7 separate regions of the Homo sapiens genome follow, and regions 2, 3, 4, 5, 6 and 7 are each linked to region 1. Evidence: promoter capture Hi-C in 16 types of primary human blood cells and fetal thymus (Javierre and others, 2016). All regions are on one chromosome and are shown on one strand. The core of a region is centred on a gene start or on the middle of the fragment in contact, and the rest is flanking DNA. Distances in the headings are between cores, read along the strand shown.

The links. Contacts are between HindIII fragments. The CHiCAGO score rates a contact against its expected background, and 5 or more counts as called.
Region 2: a contact is called between a fragment that was not itself captured here and the fragment with the promoter of ETNPPL in region 1, in 1 of 17 cell types (fetal thymus). The highest score is 7.1, in fetal thymus.
Region 3: a fragment that was not itself captured here is called in contact with the fragment with the promoter of ETNPPL in region 1 in 1 of 17 cell types (fetal thymus); the score reaches 6.6 in fetal thymus.
Region 4: a fragment that was not itself captured here is called in contact with the fragment with the promoter of ETNPPL in region 1 in 2 of 17 cell types (M1 macrophages and erythroblasts); the score reaches 5.7 in M1 macrophages.
Region 5: a contact is called between a fragment that was not itself captured here and the fragment with the promoter of ETNPPL in region 1, in 1 of 17 cell types (M1 macrophages). The highest score is 5.2, in M1 macrophages.
Region 6: a contact is called between a fragment that was not itself captured here and the fragment with the promoter of ETNPPL in region 1, in 3 of 17 cell types (M1 macrophages, megakaryocytes and M2 macrophages). The highest score is 6.4, in M1 macrophages.
Region 7: a fragment that was not itself captured here is called in contact with the fragment with the promoter of ETNPPL in region 1 in 1 of 17 cell types (M2 macrophages); the score reaches 5.2 in M2 macrophages.

Annotation. Positions count from the first base shown.
Region 1 is chr4:108,761,745-108,764,383 of GRCh38, forward strand. It overlaps ETNPPL (ethanolamine-phosphate phospho-lyase), which reads right to left and starts at 1,309. Exons shown (of 13, transcript NM_031279.4): 1 at 1,099-1,309. The coding sequence starts at 1,154. The HindIII fragment of the contact is 7,360 bases long and covers 1-2,639 here.
Region 2 is chr4:108,000,146-108,002,784 of GRCh38, forward strand. All of the region lies in intron 1 of HADH (hydroxyacyl-CoA dehydrogenase), which reads left to right. Among named protein-coding and RNA genes, the nearest start is that of HADH, 12 kb to the left of the region's middle. The HindIII fragment of the contact is 2,945 bases long and covers 1-2,639 here.
Region 3 is chr4:108,020,049-108,022,687 of GRCh38, forward strand. All of the region lies in intron 4 of HADH (hydroxyacyl-CoA dehydrogenase), which reads left to right. Among named protein-coding and RNA genes, the nearest start is that of HADH, 31 kb to the left of the region's middle. The HindIII fragment of the contact is 4,645 bases long and covers 1-2,639 here.
Region 4 is chr4:109,385,570-109,388,208 of GRCh38, forward strand. No RefSeq gene overlaps it. Among named protein-coding and RNA genes, the nearest start is that of SEC24B, 47 kb to the right of the region's middle. The HindIII fragment of the contact is 2,568 bases long and covers 66-2,633 here.
Region 5 is chr4:109,366,773-109,369,411 of GRCh38, forward strand. No RefSeq gene overlaps it. Among named protein-coding and RNA genes, the nearest start is that of COL25A1-DT, 65 kb to the left of the region's middle. The HindIII fragment of the contact is 8,120 bases long and covers 1-2,639 here.
Region 6 is chr4:109,332,589-109,335,227 of GRCh38, forward strand. No RefSeq gene overlaps it. Among named protein-coding and RNA genes, the nearest start is that of COL25A1-DT, 31 kb to the left of the region's middle. The HindIII fragment of the contact is 2,868 bases long and covers 1-2,639 here.
Region 7 is chr4:109,311,880-109,314,518 of GRCh38, forward strand. COL25A1-DT (COL25A1 divergent transcript) reads left to right here. Exons shown (of 3, transcript NR_160939.1): 2 at 1,464-1,562. Among named protein-coding and RNA genes, the nearest start is that of COL25A1-DT, 10 kb to the left of the region's middle. The HindIII fragment of the contact is 2,199 bases long and covers 225-2,423 here.

The sequences.
Region 1 (2,639 bases), core at 59-2,558:
AAAGAACTGGATTATTTTGATCCCACTTAGCGGCTGAGAGAGATGGAACTAGTCTTCCAAACCACCCAGAAACCCCTCCAGTTGGGGTGAGGAGCTTCAGTCTGAGAAACTGTCCAGCATTCCTCCGAAGAGGATGCGGATTGTTTTCTTCCTTGTAACCCCAAGTGCTCTCTCATGCCCACTGGCCCGGCTGCAGTCGTTCATTTCAAGTGAATATTGCAGACGGTTGACTTTACAGTATTCGGGGTCATTAATCATCATTTATATTTACACGTATCTTTTTAAAAACCACGCACAAAACACTAACATATTAATCTCATCTTCTTGCTCCTGTGAAGTAGAATGTTATTCCTACTTTCATAGAAGAGACAATTAATTTGACAGAGGTCCACACAGGGAATATGACATCCAACGAGAGCTAGAGCCCCTGTCGGTCTTATATACTCACCTTTATATTACTAAGTCGTTTGTGACGGGGGCAAGACAAGCAGGCTGGGAAGAACACAGCTTGGGAGAGCAAGTTGGGTAAGAGGGATCTAAATAAAGTCTCTGCTTTTCTAACAGAAGGTGGTTTCAAGTTTTTCTATTGGCTAGATAAACCCTTCATCACTTAACCAAGCATGCAAGAAGAAAAAGCTCACTTTAAGTAAAAATTGTCAGAATTGGTTTGTTTGCGGAGCCATCATGAAAAAATATTTCTCAGTTCACAGTTTCCAAAAACTTTCGAGTTGTGTGGGGGTGGCGGAGCGCTATCCTTCTTCCACCCATCTCCCATCCCTGGAATGGTGTCTGCTAGGGCTATTGGCCGTCATCCACCAACCCCTCTAGCCGGCCGGCAGCCCCCGCTAGTCCGCCGGCTGCAGAGCGAGCCGGGGACTTTCGAGCGGGCAGGAAGCCCAGCGTTCCGGGTTCCAGGAGCGTTTCTGGGAGTCCGCGCGGCCCCTGCAGGTGGAGGCGCGCGGGGCGCGTGCACAGGCGCGGCGGGCACGGAGTGCGGCTGCAGCGCATCGTTTGTTCCCTAGCCGGCTTTCTCTCTCCACCTTCTGCACTCGTTATTGCCCCCTCTCTGCACTTACTTCCGGGCCAGGGTGCCCTTACCCGATGTGCTTCTTCCTCAGCCCCAGAGTGTCCCGCTTACTGTACAGCTCGCACATGGTGGCGGGGTGCAGGGCGCTGCGAAGGTGCAAGGTGCAAGGTCTGCGCGCCTCCTACGCGAGCCTGGGACTGCCTTGGCGGCCCCGGCCGGCCTTCCTCCCGTTATCCCTCCTGGCGTTCTCTTGCCCGGGGCGTCGGAGGTCACCGGTGGCGTCAACTAGCTAGGATCATCTCCCTTTTAAGTCTGGCTCTGGCGTTGCCCTTTGCCAAGCCCCTCCTCCTCCCCCGCCGGGGCCGCGGGCAGGTCGCCGGGCTAGCAGCTCATTCGCCACCACCCTGTCCTGCCAGGCCGGCTCGGCCCTACCCGCCCCTATCATTCCTCTGAATTCGCCTTTCATTCTCCTAACTTTGCCTCGTCTTTGCTTTTCCTCCTCCTCTGCCTGCGAATTCCCTCCTTCCCACGTTCTTTCTGGTTTCTTTTTAGTGTAGTCCTTTATTTTCTGGTAAAAATTCAGGAGTTAGGCGCTTCCCGGATCAAGACTCACTGCGCAGTCTGATAAGGTAACCTACCATTTACTCAGCACAAGGACGCGTCCTAACGAGAAATAACCCGGACTCAGCCTGTTATCTCCATTGGCAGTGATGATATATGCAGTGTTTCAAACATCTCCTTTAACAATGATTACACTTCTAATTCCTCTAACTATACAACTTACAAAACACATTCACATGACTTATCTTGTTCAGTCTTCAAAACAACCCTGAGAGATGACCACGAGTGTTACCCCATTTAATGAACGGGGAAAGTGAGGTTATTCCCTGTTCTAATGATTATATATCCACTTGATGCTGAAAACGGGACTCATTCTTAGATTTCTTGACTTCCTTCAAGATGGTCTTCTCACACAGATCATATCTGAAGCTAAATATGTGCACAGGTAGAAACTTTTTTTTTTTTTTTTTTTTTTTTTTTTTTTTTGAGGATGGAGTCTGGCTCTGTCACCCAGGCTGGAGTGCAGTGGCGCAATCTCGGCTCACTGCAAGCTCCGCCTCCCGGGTTCACGCCATTCTCCTGCCTCAGCCTCCCGAGTAGCTGGGACTACAGGCGCCCGTCACTACGCCCGGCTAATTTTTGTATTTTTAGTAGAGATGGGGTTTCACCATGTTAGCCAGGATAGTCTCGATCTCCTGACCTCGTGATCCCCCCGCCTCGGCCTCCCAATAGAATCTTAATTAACTGAATCATTAAATCATACATTATTTTAACTAGAAGTCATCTGGTTTAACTTCTCTGCTCTGTAGATAAGAACAGTGAGGCACAGGAAAGGTGAAGGTTTATTCAAGTTCACACAAACACTTAGTCATTGGGTTAAGGATAGGTCATTTTATTCTCTCTGTGTTTTGAAAGGGCAGCAGGGAAAGCCTAATTTGCATGTATCAACACATTTGATAAGTATTTGCAACTGATCTTTCTCTTGAAAAAAGTTATTAATATATATTCATGCACTGCAGGAGGAGTAGAATTGGATTGCCTAAGGTAGAAA
Region 2 (2,639 bases), core at 41-2,540, 760 kb before region 1:
TCCGTACTATCTTGATTTCATCATCTAAAGTTGGTGTTGGCAAAGAGAAGATAAGTGTTTAGGGTGTTGGATATCCCAGTTACCCTGATTTGATCATTACACATTTTAGGCAGGTATCAAAATGTCACATGTACCCCAAAAGTATGTACAGCTATTACATATCAGTTTTTTAAAGAAGAAAAGGTTGGTATGGTTAGCTTTTCTATTTCAAGTGTATCATTCATCTTTCACATCTGGGATTTCTCCTATGCTCTGGTTGGTTAATAACTTTTATTCTGAAATCGGTGAGATTCTTATGACATGAAATAGTCTATAACCAGTTAAGTTTTTATTTCTCTGTTCTGTTCACATCCTGGGGACTGGGCTGCCATTACATAACTGAGCAGCCATTGGTGGTTCACACCAGCGCCACACCCAGTTATTTTCTTTCAGTATTTGAATTCCTGCACAAAAGATCTGCTGTATCTGCAAATCACTAGAGGCACAAAAGAAGTGATTACCTCTACTAAGGGTTGGGAGAAGTTTCACTAAAGGAGAGATGGTGTCCATGTTAGATTATGAAGGGTAAGTTGAAGTCCATGAAGCAGCAATGAGGGAGCCGGACATGTATGGCAGAGGAAACCACATGAACAAGGGCACAGAGCCATGAGATAGCACAGAGGAGGGAGACGTGTGGTGTGGCTGGGGAAGACTACAGAATCGGGTTACTACCGTCCAAAGCATTTGTTATTTAGCAGTTATTGACCAGCTATCATATTCAAGGCATGTGATAAGTACTAAGGGCTACAAAGACCAAATCAATTTCTGCCATTAAGGGATTTTAAATCTAAGAGCAGAGATTAGACAGAGATCTAAATGACACAGTTTACTTTGGTGTAAAGTAGTACAATAAGAGCAGTAAAAATCTAGTTCTGAGGTTTCAAAATAGAAAGTACATTCATTTGGAAAAAGGCTTCATGGAGAGGGTAGCATTTGAAATGGGCCTGAATAATGGATAGAACATTTCTGGACAGCAGTTAATGGTTGGGATTAAGGAAAAAGTGTTGTCCAGAAAATGGTGACCTACAGAATAGTGGTACCAGTAATGAAGGCCAAGGAGAATTGATTTTAGGGTCAAGGTGATAACTGCAGCTTAGATAGATTATTTTGGTTTCAGGCACAGTTGGAAGTATGAGAACGATTGGAATTTCAGAAGGAAATTATATTGGAAACAGAACCTTGAAGGAAGTCCTTGTTTATAGGCTTAGAAGATCAAGAGAGGTCAATTAATATGGCTAAAAGGAACAGACAGATAAGAAACTGAAGAGTTTCAAAAATGAAACTTTTATTGGCAATGTACAGAGCTGTTGTAGAAGATGAAGCCAAAGAACAGGCATTGACTTTAGCAATTTAGTAGACCATTGATAAGTTACAGTAGTCCCCCCTTACGAGGGGAGGGAGTACATTCCTAGACCCTCAGTGGATGCGTGAAACTGCAGATAGTACCAAATCCTATACATACTATGTCTTTTTGATCTGATAACCCAGTCAACTACCAAGTGACTAATGGATTGGGTAGTATACAGTGTGGATATGCTGGACCAAGGGATGAGTCTCCTCCCAGACAGGACAATTCAAGATTGCATCACACTACTCAGAATGACATGCAATTTAAAACATGCATCATTTATTTCTATAATTTCCCATTTAATATTTTTGGACCATAGTTGACTGTTGGTAACTGAAACTACAGAAAGTAAAACCACAGATAAAGGGGGGACCAACTGTATCTAATTTCATGCAGCAGTGGTGGTGGAAGAAGCTACTCTGATAGGAATGTTTGTGTTCCCTCCAAAATTTATGTCGAAGCTGAATCCCCAGTGCAGCAGTATTAAGAGATAAGGCCTTTAGGAGGTGATTAGGTCATGAGGGTTCTGTATTCATGAACAGCTTAGTGCCATTTAAAGGGGCTTGAGAGACCAACTTTGCCTCTTCTCCCTTCTGCCATATGAGGACACAGTGCTCGTCCCCTCCAGAGCAGGGGTCCCCAACTTCTGGTCCGTGGCCCATTAGGAACCGGGCCACATAGAAGGATGTGAGCAGCTAGCAAGACTTCATTTGTATTTACAGCTGCTCCCCATCACTTGCATTGCTACCTGAGCTCTGCCTCCTGTTGGATCAAGAGTTGCATTAGATTCTCATAGGAGCATGAATCCTATTGTGAACTGTGCATGTGAGGGATCTAGGTTTCGTGTCCTTGTGAGAATCTAATGCCTGATGATCTGTCACTGTCTCCCATTATCCCCACATGGCACCATCTAGATGCAGCAGAACAAGCTCAGAGCTCCCACTAATTCTGTATTGTGGTGAGATGTATAATTATTTCATTATATATTACAATGTAATAATAATAGAAATAAAGTGCACAATCAATGTAATGCACTTGAATCATCCCTAAACCATCCCCTCTTCCCTGCAAGACGGTAGAAAAATTGTCTTCCGTGAAATTGTCTCCCATGTCTTCCTGGTGCCAAAAAAGGTTGGGGACCTTTGCTCCAGAGCATGCAGCAGCAAGGCACCATCTTGGAAGCAGAGAACAGCCCTCACCAGACACTGAACATGCTGATGATCTTGATCTCTGTTGTTTATACATTACCCAG
Region 3 (2,639 bases), core at 58-2,557, 740 kb before region 1:
AGTTCTCATTAGATACACTATACTAGCTTGTCCACAGTTCCTGGGGTTAATTCTGACCCCATGTAATGGTGCCTTAGCGTTGTCCCCAGATGAGGTACATCTCCTGTGCATTGTGATCAGAGCTATTAAAACCAGCTCCCATTGGGTGCGGCGGCTCATGCCTGTAATCCTAGAACTTTTGGAGGTGGAAGTTAGTGGATTGCTTGAGACCCAGGGGTTCAAGAACAGCCTAGGCAACATGGCAAGACCCCATTTCTACAAAAAATAAAAAATCAGCCAGGGGTTTTGGTGCACGCATGTAGTCTCCAGTACTTGGAAGGCTGAAGTGGGAGGATTGATTGAGCCTGGGAGGTTGAGGCTGCAGTGAGCTGTGATTGCACCACTGCACTCCAGCCTGGATGACAGAGCAAGATCCTATATCGAATAAAAAAACCCTAAAAGTAAAAAAATAAAACCAGCTTCTGATAGCCTTGAGCCTCCTGACCATAAACCTGGAAGGTGGAGCGGGGAGGCAGGGAGGGCTTCCCCAGCATCCTGTTTGGAATGCTTGGAGACTCCAATATGTTGGAGTTGGAGTCACAGTAGGCAATTTGCACCTGAAATGGGACAACTTGCCTTTTACAGGGTCCTAATTACAGGGTCTGAGGAGCAGCCGCTATTAAAGTAGCATTTGTTCTGAGGTTGAGGAGTTATTGCCCTGCGAAGTGTGGGGGACGCTGATGCTGCCATGTGGGTGATGTGGGGCCAGGCAAACCTACACACACTGGCTGTGGCCTCTCTGGGAGTGTGTATCGTCTGTTTTCTTCATTATTGCCTTTTCCAACTACCTTTTCCTTCCTTTATCCTCCTCATTCCCTCACCACTACTCAGCATAAGCATTTTTAATAAGTCATAATAATGACCATTTTTTTTAGCATTTTCTCTCAAGTGACAACTTTGACCATCTTGCAATGGGACTTTTTCTGTCTTACTAACATTGCTTCTCAGCTTCCTCCTATTTTCTCCTATCCCCTAAGGCTGATTTTTTGAAGAAATTGAAGAATGAAGGGGAGGGATTTGGGGAACAGAAGAAACAGCATTTAACAGCTCTTATCTCATGCAGATTAAGAGCAAAGAAGTGGCATGCATTTCCAACATTTCAGTACTTAGGGACTAGTTGATTTCTTTAGTTATTATATTGTATATATAAGTGTTTTGGAGATAGGCACATTCTGTAGATTTACTTTAATAATGTTTTCAACTGCATTTATCTGGTAATGTATGCTTTTGTCTTTGGAAATGTAGTGTGTTGGTTGTTAACAGCTGATGTTTAGCAAATGCTACTATTTTTTAGAAAGTATTTTGTAAAAGTGTTCTTCTCTATTCAGTTTTTATTGTTTAACTTTAGCTCTTCCTTGTGTTGCTGGTGGTGTACACCAAAATAACTTGTATAATAAGCTAAGTGGCTCCTTTACTTAGGACTGGGCTCATTTAAATGTATATATATATGTATTTTTTTTCAGACTCTGTTGGAACTAGGAGCAGCGTATCTGTACAAATTACTGTTCGTTGAATGAATGAATGAGTGAATAAACATCCATCTCTCCTGTTTAAAAAGAAACAAACCTTCACTATTATTAACTCCCTTAAACCAAAAACTTAATTTGAAAACTCCATAGTCAGCAGTGTTTGTCCCCCAGCTCAGTCTGTGGTTTTGATGGAGACTTTTTAGACCTCCTTTCAAACAGCTCTGGGATTCTGTTTGATTTGTGGTACCCGCAGGGTGGCTTCTGGTCTTTCTCGTCCTGCTCCTCTTCTCCATCTTCACTGTGTCTTTTCCTGTTTCCATCCATTCACTTCTCTTGATGTCACGACATGACACCATGGCCCAGGCTGTGATCACACGAAAACAGGAGTGAGAACTCTTCTTTGTTTATATAGCACCTTTCATCCCTGCACAGACACTAGCTCATTAGTTCACCGAGTCAGACGGCCCTCTTGCACAGGGAAGACATGCCCATGATCCCCATTCCAGAGAAGAGAGGTGAGGCAGTTGCCTAAGATCCCATGAAGGGTCTAAAGTAAACCCTTTGACTCCGATTGAAGTTCTTTACTGGCCTTTACATTTTACATATATATATGTGTGTGTGTGTGTGTGTGTATGTGTGTGTGTATGTGTGTGTGTGTGTGTGTGTGTATAGTTGAATGAATGAGTGAATAAACACGCATCTCTCCTGTTTAAAAATATATATATATATACTTCATCTGGTTCTTTCCATTTACCATTACACATGAGTTCTCTAACTGCTTACTGAGGGCTGACTGTGCCGGGCATCGTGCTTGGTGCCATCCCCTACAGATGCCAGTAGGGCAGCCCTTGTGCCCTTGCCTGTACCTCACAGAGGTCAGGAGGGCTGCTGGAGCAGGTGGCAGGCCCCGCTTGCTGTAAATGAAAGCCTTCCCCAGAAGGATGAGTCTGTTCTGAAGCCAAGGGGCCGCTGGCCTCTAGAGCATCTGTGTGGCAGAGGGTGGAGTCATGGGAGAAATACTCAGGAATCCAGGAGAACTGTCACTTGGGCAAATTACTCACTTTCCTGGGGCTCCTCCTCCTCTATAATAGAAGATCAGGTCCCACGTAGAAGACTTTAAGGGCAACCATC
Region 4 (2,639 bases), core at 100-2,599, 620 kb after region 1:
AGGTTTCTAGCTGGTGAAGTGACACCCAAGAATCCTGTAACAATTTCATTTTTGCCATCTCTATAAGCTTTGCATTCAAAGCCTAATAAAGGATGAGTTTAAATCTACCTTGTTTAATGCTACATTCACAATGCCTGGTATAGGGCTTGGCACATAATAAGTATTTTTTGAATGAATGAATGAATGAATGCCTCATGTAAGTCAACTCATAGACTGGCCCACTCCAGACCTATTTATATTTATAGCCAAGAGGGCAAACTTACACATTATGGAATTTACCCAATTACACATAACAAACCTGAAAATCAGCCTAGGTCAGCAGGAGTCTATGGGTAAGGCTGAGAACATGAATATTTATCCACAGCCATTCACCTTTGGACATTCTTTATCTTATTTAGGCTCAGGAGAGAAAAAAAATTGGATTAGTTGAGAAGAGGGGTTGATAAAGACCACCCTTACCAGCTGTCTAGGATCATCCAAAAACTTCCACCAGCTGAGTTAGTTTTCAGCCAGGATGTCAGTGAACAATTTTTTGCAAAGACAGGTTCCCCTTAGAGCAGATTCTGAAACAAAGTTTTGAGTGCTGCAGTTGATTTGGATGTCATCCCAATGAAGAAAGAAAGAAATGAGACACGAGGAAGAAAAGTCAGCTAATTAAGATGTGTTTTCACTCTGGCTGTGTCACCCACTCTGGGCAACTGGAACTTAATTGCTCTCTGAAACTCTGCGTGTCAAGTCTCAGAGTTATCCCACCAGAGAAGTGAAAGAACTGGGACACATACACCTCCTCCCATCAGTTACTGGTGGGGCTGGGGGTCTGGGAAGGGGTCATTAGATTCCTGGCTTACCCAGCCTGCCCATGTTGCCAGAGGATACCTTGATCAGGTTGTCAGAAGCCAGCAATAGTAGTGAATTACAATGACAAGCCAGAAAGGAAATAGGCCAGGCACTGACAATGATTATTACAGACTCTCTTCCACCTTATGGTCATGCCTGAGAATTCACTGCCCCAGAATTTTAGAATTCCAGGAGACAGCATAACTCTTTTTGTTCCTTAAGTCTCTGACCCACAACACTTATACACAGCAACAGAACCATCTCTCAAAATCCCCCCTCCCCAGCCCCCAGAAATGTTAGTGGCAGCACAGCTGCCAACCTCTTTTTTTTTTTTTTTTTTTTTTAATTTAACGAGAGGCGAATTTAACAGGCAAGAAGGGGCAAGAAGGAAGGGAGAAGGAAGAAGCTCCCCTGTACAGAGACAGAGGGAGGGGGGCTCCAAAGCCGAGAGAGGGAACCCCACCTGCCACAGATACCAGCTAGGTGTACATACAGAGGCTGCAGGAGGCGGTGTCTGATTTGCATAGGGTCCATGGGATTGGTTTGACTAGGCATGTCATTCACATAGCCCGCGAAAAAGCTGGCCCTCCTGCCCTAGCCTTTTAATATACAAATGCAGGGCACCGTGACGTTCTACACACGTGGGGATACGTGGGGGCGGCCATGTTGCCAAAAACATGTGGGGAAAGGGCAAGAAGGCCACTGGAATCGCCATGTTTGGGTGGACCCAGTTTCTAATGGCTGGCGTTTGCATATCAAAGGTTGCCAGCCTGGCTCTAGAGCCAGGGCTTTACAAGAAACTTTTGCGGAGATGCTTTAAAAAAAGGAAAACTTAGGGCTGGGCACGGTGGCTCACGCCTGTAATCCCAGCACTTTGGGAGGCTGAGGCAGGCGGATCACCTGAGGTCGGGAGTTCAAGACCAGCCTGACCAACATGGAGAAACCCCCGTCTTTACTAAAAATACAAAATTAGCCAGGTGTGGTGCATGCCTGTAATCCCAGGCAGCTACTCGGGAGGCTGAGGCAAGAGATTCTCTTAACTCTGAGGCAAGAGAATCGCTTGAACCTGGGAGGCAGGGGTTGTGGTGAGCCAAGATCGTGCCATTGCACACCAGCCTGGGCAACAAGAGGGAAACTCCATCTCAAAACAAAAAAGAAAAAACAAAAAAGAAAACTTCCCAAGGACCCCTTTTCCTGTCTATCTGCCTAAAATAATTTCTTAATAACTCCTACAACATTCCCCCATGTGGAGATGCCACACTAACTGCTGTTAGGGGGTTTTGGGCAACGACTCCTTCTGGCTACTTCCTGCTGAAAAGGGGCATCAAATGGGGAACAGCAGCTAGGGCTCCTCCTAGGGTGGATCTAAGGGTCCTCCGAAGAATGGCATGTCCATGTGTAGTTAGTTTACAGAACCATTTGGAGTTTGCTTCTAGGCGAGAAGAAACAATTTGAGGTATAGTATTGTGTATACAGGGTCCAAATATCAATACAAGAAGACAAATAAGCAAGAGAGGTCTTAATAAAGGGGTTAACCAATTCCATAAAGAAGACTGGAATTTATTAGAGGGACTGTGGCCACTCAGGGCTGAAGCCGGCATTTTCCCTGAGCCTGTCAATAATTTTGATTTGATTTTTAAGTACCTATAGATTTTCCTTTACTTTACTAGAGGTGTTAATCCAAAAGCCAGCTGCCAACCTTCTGAACCCCACTACAAAATCACAGTAGAAAATAAAAATCACTATAGCAATTGCCATAAGGTAATACAATTTTCTGCTTACTTGCACTCCACCCAAGCTTC
Region 5 (2,639 bases), core at 83-2,582, 610 kb after region 1:
TCTTAAAAGCAATAGGAAACCACTGAAGAGTATTTATTTTGTATTTATGAATATAATTCATTATGAATATAATTCTTTATATTTTCAGGTCAAATTTTGTGAATGTTTTTGGTAACACTGGTTTTTTAAAGCCAAGAATATTACTCCGAACTTTTCTCATCCACTATCATAACATACTCACCAAGGCTTTTTATTTTGAAATGAGAGTGATCCATGTACCTTAGTTTCTAAAATTCACTTTTCTTTAAAATGAAAATCACATAGAAAAAATGAATATATCCTGCACCTATGCACAAATGCATTCCAGTTTGAATTGCTATAGACCATGTGTTGAAACACCCCAAATAAGGTTATTCCAGGAAATATAGCATAATTATAGCTCAAAACGTAGCTCTCCTTGATTATATTATGAAACCCAAAATGGACTTGTGACACAGGTTAGTTTTCAAACATTGAAATACACACATTTTTATCTTCCTCTATGCTTGTAACAAAGATTCCTTCTCTCTGTGTTCACACTGAATGACTGTGTTCAGCAGGGAAGAAACCAGTCTCTCATACCATTCTTTTCCCAAACACCTGGTTATTCAGTTTTAACAAGGTGACTGGTTTCCACCATAACTCTGCTATTTTTCCACTTGGCTGAGTCCCCCTGGACCTTAAAGTAAAAACCTATGTAACATTAGCGTTCCTACTTATACTATACGGGTTCCACCTACATCATGCCACTAATTTACAGGGGATACTGTGAATAATGCAAATAGGTATTCCTTCCTGTGCACTTTCATTTGAATCTCTCTGAGATGGACCAAAAGGCAATATTATTCAGATCTTTCATTTTCTACCTCAATTCATATTTCACTGATTTATAAGCACAGGTAGAACTCTTTCATCTGCTGCTGGCTCCTTTCCTAGTTTATTGTGTATTTGAAATAACCATAAAGCGAAAAGATTTGCCAAGTTACCTTATTTATAGGATTAGAATAATGGTTGCCATTTACCTTTCAGACCAAAGTTCTTTCAAATATAACTAGAAGGAGGTCATTCCACAGTTGCAGTTACCCTTCCAAATGCTATAGAAATTCAGGGGAAGAGTGGTCATGTCAAACCCCCAGGTTGCATACTTTATATGGTAAAGTATGCCGTAAGGGTGTACCTGGTGCTTACTGAAACCATTCTAGTTTGAGAGCAGATGGACCATAAACACCAGGTAAATAATACTGGCTTTAATAATTTTTAATTAAATGGAGAACTTAGAAGTTGACCACAAAGTTCTCCTTCCTACCTGGCTATGGAGGGAACAATATTGTATACATTGAGGTTTAAAAAGAAAAGTATCACTCTTAGACCCAGGTGAACCGACCCTTGTCCTAAGCCCCATGCTGTAGAGGGCCCCACTCTTCCCCATGTTGCAGTCTCCTGTGCCCACTCAGAGGCTACACCCCCCACCCTTCGGGACCATTTCTGAATTCTAGGACCCCAGAATTCCTTGCCCAAATAGTCCTCAACCTGCTTCCAGAGTTTCTAGACCTAAAGGTGATCAAGTGGCAGCTGTCAGCGAGGAAGTGTGGTTGGTGCCTGGGTATGTGAATTGGGGTGTCCACACATACACAGGAAGCCCCTCGCCATGTAAGATGCAGCCAGCCATGGAGGAGACAGGGCCTGGCTCTCCCCATGCCTCCATGCTCTGGTAGGAAACACCAGGTTAAGAGAAAGAACATCTCTTACTGAACAATTTGATCACTTGATTTATAACTTGGAAATATTTAGATATATGATCTGCGGGCCTCTATTTATATTCTTGCCCCAAATCTCACAATTGTAAAAAATGGGCTTTAAAAGAATATATTGAATTCGAGACATCAGTGACTAATAGTAATCTGGGAAACTTTATATTCTTTTCTAAACATAAATCACTAGAACTGTAATACGAAAGATGTGACGAGGAAGAAAGAGGGAGTGGGACTCCACTGTTTAGATCAAACAGTAGCTTCAATCTCTTAAGTTGTGCTCTTTGTTCATTAAGCATGAGGAGCCAGCTAGAACATTCTTCTCTCTGCCACAAGAATTCCATCTGTAGAACAGAGGCTCCCAGGCTGCCAGCTGCTCTTCACTCCCCTGTCGTAAGAATGCAGCTGAGGTTGAAAACTTGTCACCAAGTTGGAGCCAATATCCACCTGTCCCTCTTGTCAGTCTCTTTCTATAAAGTCTTCCTGGGATTTAAAAACTAAAGCCATAAAAATGGGATTTGCCTTGACTCTTTCTAGAACAGCTATATACCATGCATGCATCATATGTCCCACAATGACGGTGTCTCTTAAAAATTGTGGTATTTAAATAAAATAACAGCTGTGCAGTACTATGAACAGCCATGACAGATATTCTTAGAAATTGTTTGCTTATTCAAATCACTGAATGTGGATTTTATTTTTCCAGTAAACCAAAAAAGAGAGAAAGAATAATAAAAGAGGGATGTTCACAGTTATAATTTATACAAAATCATGTCAAAAAATTTTCTATTTCTCATAAATAAAAAGCTAATATATAATTATATATCATAAGTATAGACTTTTTTCTATAGTAGGAAAGACAATGCTGCTATATAATATGCATGTCAATATGTCATTAATACCTAATAC
Region 6 (2,639 bases), core at 74-2,573, 570 kb after region 1:
GTATTATTACTCTTGTCACTAAAGTGTCTGGATCTAAGATGTGATTAAGTAAATTCCTAGAAATAAGTACTGCATGGAAATCTCTGCTAGTGGATGGAGCATGGCATCAGGAGGGGCCTGGCAGTGGGTACAATGGGCTATAGGCAGAGATCCAGACAGGCTATATATTTGAACTGCCTCATTAATTAAGTCTTCCAGGCCACCTATTATAGCATCTATTACACATCTGGCACCTGAAAAAGAACTTTCTTTGATTTGGTAATCCAAACCTTACAATAGGACTGGTGTTAGGTACAGTTTTGTCATCATGACTTGGCTACTCTGGTATATCATAGTAACAAATCCCACACAGAGAACCTTACACAGCCCCAGCTTCATAAAGCTCCCAGGATGACTGATAGTTTGCTTCTTTTCAGTAACCTGTTTTGGGTCCTATAATCAAACATCATGTGGGGTCTTGTGGGTACTCAACCTCATAGGCAAACTTTGTCCACACCTCTCTACCCCCATTTCACACAAACACACACAGCCTGCCCTGTAGCGCCCTCTGGGGCCAAAGGATGCACACCCCAGTGGTAAGTTATACCCTTTGGAGGATGAGCCTGAAGAAGGTGGAGGCCTATGAAATGGGGCTTGGCACTATTTGACAGGGAATTCCACTGTCCAGTATGTTGAGCATGGCTGGGGTTGGGAAGAGAGTACAGCACTGGAACTGGGTGGGCATATGCCCTTGGCCCAGTGGAGTCTTCACTCTGTGAGGAGGAGAATCGCTGGAGGAGGGTCTAAACAGGGGCTCTGGAAAGGACAGGCCTGGAGAATAAGGGTGGTACTGCCTCAGATAATGCTCAGCACACTTTGCATAGCTTTGAACAGCTGCATTAACCATAGATTCAGGAGTCATTTCACTTAGGACTAGCCTTATCAGAGTGAGTTACAAGGAAAGGAAGCTGAATAAGGAAACCTAGGCCACCAGCCTGTCCCAGGGAAAGGGTATGTCACAGCAGTTTCTGAGCTTAGATGTTTCTGAGCTTCTATTCCTGCCATTCTAAAGCCCAAAGCACTGCTCAGTTTCCCCAAATAGGTCAAAGATACAAAGCTGGGGAAGGAGAGCGCCAAGGACATGGGAAGAAAGGTGGGTAGGTCTCCAGGGTCTCTGTCTTGTTCTCCAGCCCTACCCCATTTATTAATCTCCTTGTTTTCTTCACCTCCTAAGGATGGCAAATACCCCCAGGATAAAACATTTACCAGTTCACCAATTTCTGCTCTTACAATCACTCTATTCTCTCAAGGCAATTCTTCCCAGTTTTCTTAGGCATTTCATATTACTAACAAGATGTTTTCTATATTTTTTCTGGATATATTTTGTATGAGGGTTGGACTGAATTATAGTTGACTATTACTGGAAGTGGAAATCCCCAATTGGCTTTCAGATAGTTGGTTTTTGGCAAACTGTGTTTCAGTGAATGGACCCCAAGTAGAGCTTCAAGTTTCCTTAGATTAGCTTTGAAAATGCATTATTTAACAAACACTTCTTTAACCAGCACTTACTGACTATTACCCTCTTTAAGGCACTATAGTAAACCACAGAGAAGATACAAAAATGAAAACAATGTAAGTTGTGTCGTTAAAAGAATGTATAATCTTGAGGGGGAGTCAGACATACGTATAAATAATAAAGGAGTGAAGGAGGAGGGCGAAGTGCAGAGAATGAACTGACTCTGGAAGTAACACGCCTGGAGATTACAAATTGGAACAGAAATGTCATGTTTTGTGAGGACTATAAATCAAAGGTCTCAAAATGGTAGGCCACAGACTGAATTCAGCCCACAAACGTGTTTGGTTTGGCCCACATCGTGTTTTAAAAATAAGAGATTTCCCATTTAAAAAAAAAATCTGGATTTCCATCTTCTGAAAACTCAGAATATCTGGCAACTGTCCTCATTGCCAACTGGCAAGTGTCAGCTGGAGCCGAGTGGAAGCTGCCTCCTTGGAGAGGGCCTCATTTCTTCCAGTCACCACATTTCCCATCAGTCCCCCACCATCAGCCTTCACACCCCGCACAGTTCACCTTCTCCACCTAATGAAAAGTGCTACATAAATGCAGCTTCCAGCCCTTCTTCAGAGAGCTAATTTTAGGCCTTCAATTTCATGCCTTCAATTTCATGCCTCACCACCCCCCACCCCTCCACACACATTGTTAACCCCATTTTTCTATATAGAAAATCTAGACCACAAGGACTCACCACCACCGTCAGTCATTGAAATATCCTTCCTGTAGGCACTTAAGTTTATGACCTCTGTGTGTTGATCCTATCCCTGCAGCATAGTCTGTGGGAGAGCGAGTCCATGAAAGTTCCTTCCCAGCAGTTTTACTGCCAGAGGCTTTAGAGGAGAAGCCACCCCTAAGAGTTCTGTTTCAGAATAGGGTTTAGGGATTGTGTCCTATTACCTATAAGTTGAAATTTGAGTATCAGATTCTACTATTCTTCCATGAGCCCTTAGGGCATATTTAATCATCTAATCATTCTGAACTAGAGGAAAATTTGTAGTCTAGCTCAGAGATGCAGGAGGAATAGAAACTCATCTGCAGGAGACTGGGGATCCTGGCTCTAGCTTCACACCAGATTCCTAGCATTGAG
Region 7 (2,639 bases), core at 74-2,573, 550 kb after region 1:
GTAAAGAGCTAGCCACAGAGGAAATGATTGATAAATTGGAATATATTAAATCAAGATCTTCTGTTTATTAAAAAAACTTAAAATGATTGAAATACAAGACAAAGAATGAGAAAAGATATTTGCAAAATATAGAAATGAGAAAAGACTATTATCTAGAATGTATAAGAATTCTTGCAAATCAATGCGAAAAAGCATCAGACAACCTAATAAAAAAAATTAGCAAAAGCTTAAATAAGCACTTTTATAAGTGAAAAATAAAAAACAGCCAATAAACATTTTTAACTTTTATTTTAAGTTCAGGGGTACATGTGCAGGTTTGTTACATAGGTAAACTATGTCACAGGAGTTTATTGTAAAGATTATCTCATCACCCAGGTATTAAGCCTAATGTCCATTAGTATTTTTCCAAATCCTCTCCTCCATCCCACCCTCCACCCTCTAGTAGGCCTCAATGTGTGTTGTTCCACGCTATATGTCCTATACTCTCATTATTTAGCTCCCAGTTATGAGTGAGAACAGGCAGCATTTGATTTTTTGTTCCCATATTAGTTTACTAAGGTTAGGCATCCAACTCCATCCATGTCCCTGCAAAGGACATGATCTCATTCTTTTTTGTGGCTGAATAGTATTCCATGGTGTATTTGTATCATGTTTTCTTTATCCAGTCTATCATTGATGGGCATTTAAGTTGATTCCATGTCTTTGCTATTGTGAATAGTGCTGCAATTAACATACACATGAATTTTTTTATAATAGAACAATATATATTTCTGTAGTTATATACCCAGTAATGGGATTACTCGGTCAAATGGTATTTCTGTCTTTAGGTGTTTGAGGAATCACCACACTGTCTCCCACAATGGTTGAACTAATTTACACTCCCAACAACAGTGTATTAATGTTCCTTTTTCTCCACAACCTTGGCTGTGATAGCCACAGGAGATAGACAAATTTCTAGGCAGACAGGATGGGTCCTTGGTGAAACTCAACCTTCAAGCCAAAGACAGTCTAAAGCCTGAAAACTGAGCTACTAATTCAGGATAGAAGCCACAGATCTGAGTGAGAACTTCCATCCCCACCTTATCCACTGTCTCTCAATAGGTTCTTTCTGAATGATGCCTTTTAACCAATTGAATGGTGTCTTTTCCAAGCCCACCCATAAACCAATCAGCACACGTTCCCCTATTCTAAGCCCATAAAAACCCTGGACTCAGCCTCACTGATGGCAGTCTACTTTTGGGTCCCCTCTTGCTGAGGGCTTTCTTTCTGTCACTCAATAAAATTCAACTCTGCCTTACTCACTCTCCAATGTCCATGTACCTCACTCCTCTTGGTCATTAGACAAGAACTCAGAACTCACCAAACTGCAGGAGTGAAAGAGCAGTAACGCTCCCTCCCACTCGCTGAACTACGGGAGTAAAGAAGTTGATTGGTGCCACTCTCTCCCTCTCGCCAAACTACAGGAGTGAAGAAGCCACTGGGAGCCACTCCCTCTCACTCACCGAACTATGGGAGTAAAGAAGCTGCAACATTTCTGGAGGCTCGTCCAGGTCTTCAGAAGGGTGAGTAAGAGCAGACCTGTGACCCTTTACTTTCATTTCTGAGGACTCTCATCCTCACTTTTTTTTCGAAAACAGATAAAACACCAAGTCTCTGTTAGACAGTTAAGGGTGAATAGACCAACTGCCAATCTACAAGACTCAGAGGACAGACTTGCTCGGGAGGACATTGTCAGTCCCCCTTCATCCTTGGGTGTTGGGAATGTTGGCCTTGTTCCAATCCAGTTTCCTTTCCTGGAAGTCTAGCCATTACGTAGGTTGGAATAAAGTCCTGAACAACTGAAGGTATCTGGCCAAGGCACACTTTGGTGTTACCTGAAGACTCCTGGACCAGCTCCAATCCCCCACAGCCCATTCAGGTGCCAGGCCAAGGCTTTCAGTCCTTCCTATCTAATTTTCTTTCTTTCAAGAGTGTCCTGACTGCTATCCCCTATTTATAGACAATGTTACCGGTGTTTTTGCAACGAAAAGAGATACTATTACTGGATAGAATGAGGACTTGGCTTAGTCATCAGGAGTGTAATCCAGAACAATGTTGCTTCTGTCTATTCTTAGAAATAGAGGGATGTAACAATTAAGAGAGTTTTCTTTCCCCTGTTGAAGAAACTCATTACCACAGAACAAGAGGCTATTTCCCCCAGCCACCTTCCCTCCTCTGCATTTAAATTGCTTTTTTCCACCCTGTCAGAGTCAACATAATCCTGCGAATACAAGGAGCTTTTCCATGCAAGGGATTAATGTTTTCCTTTTGGGAGGCATCTTATTAGGCCAGGTCCCCAATTCCCAGGATTCCCTTTCTTTCCTTTGTTTGAGGAGGATCTGGTTCCACACCTTCACCTTAGTATTACTCCATTGTATTTTCCAAGCTTCGATTTGGAGCCCTATAAAGAAAACTAGATTTGAGGGACCAAGAGGCAGTCAACAGCAAAAGGCTAGGGCACAGCACAGGTAAGAATGACTATCCCTGCCAATTAGGCCTTCCCACTTCATGGGTGGAGGTGATGTTCATATCCATGATGTAGACACCACCAGCCCATCCATGGCACCAGTACTAGGTGCTGAGATTCAGGGGGTGACTCA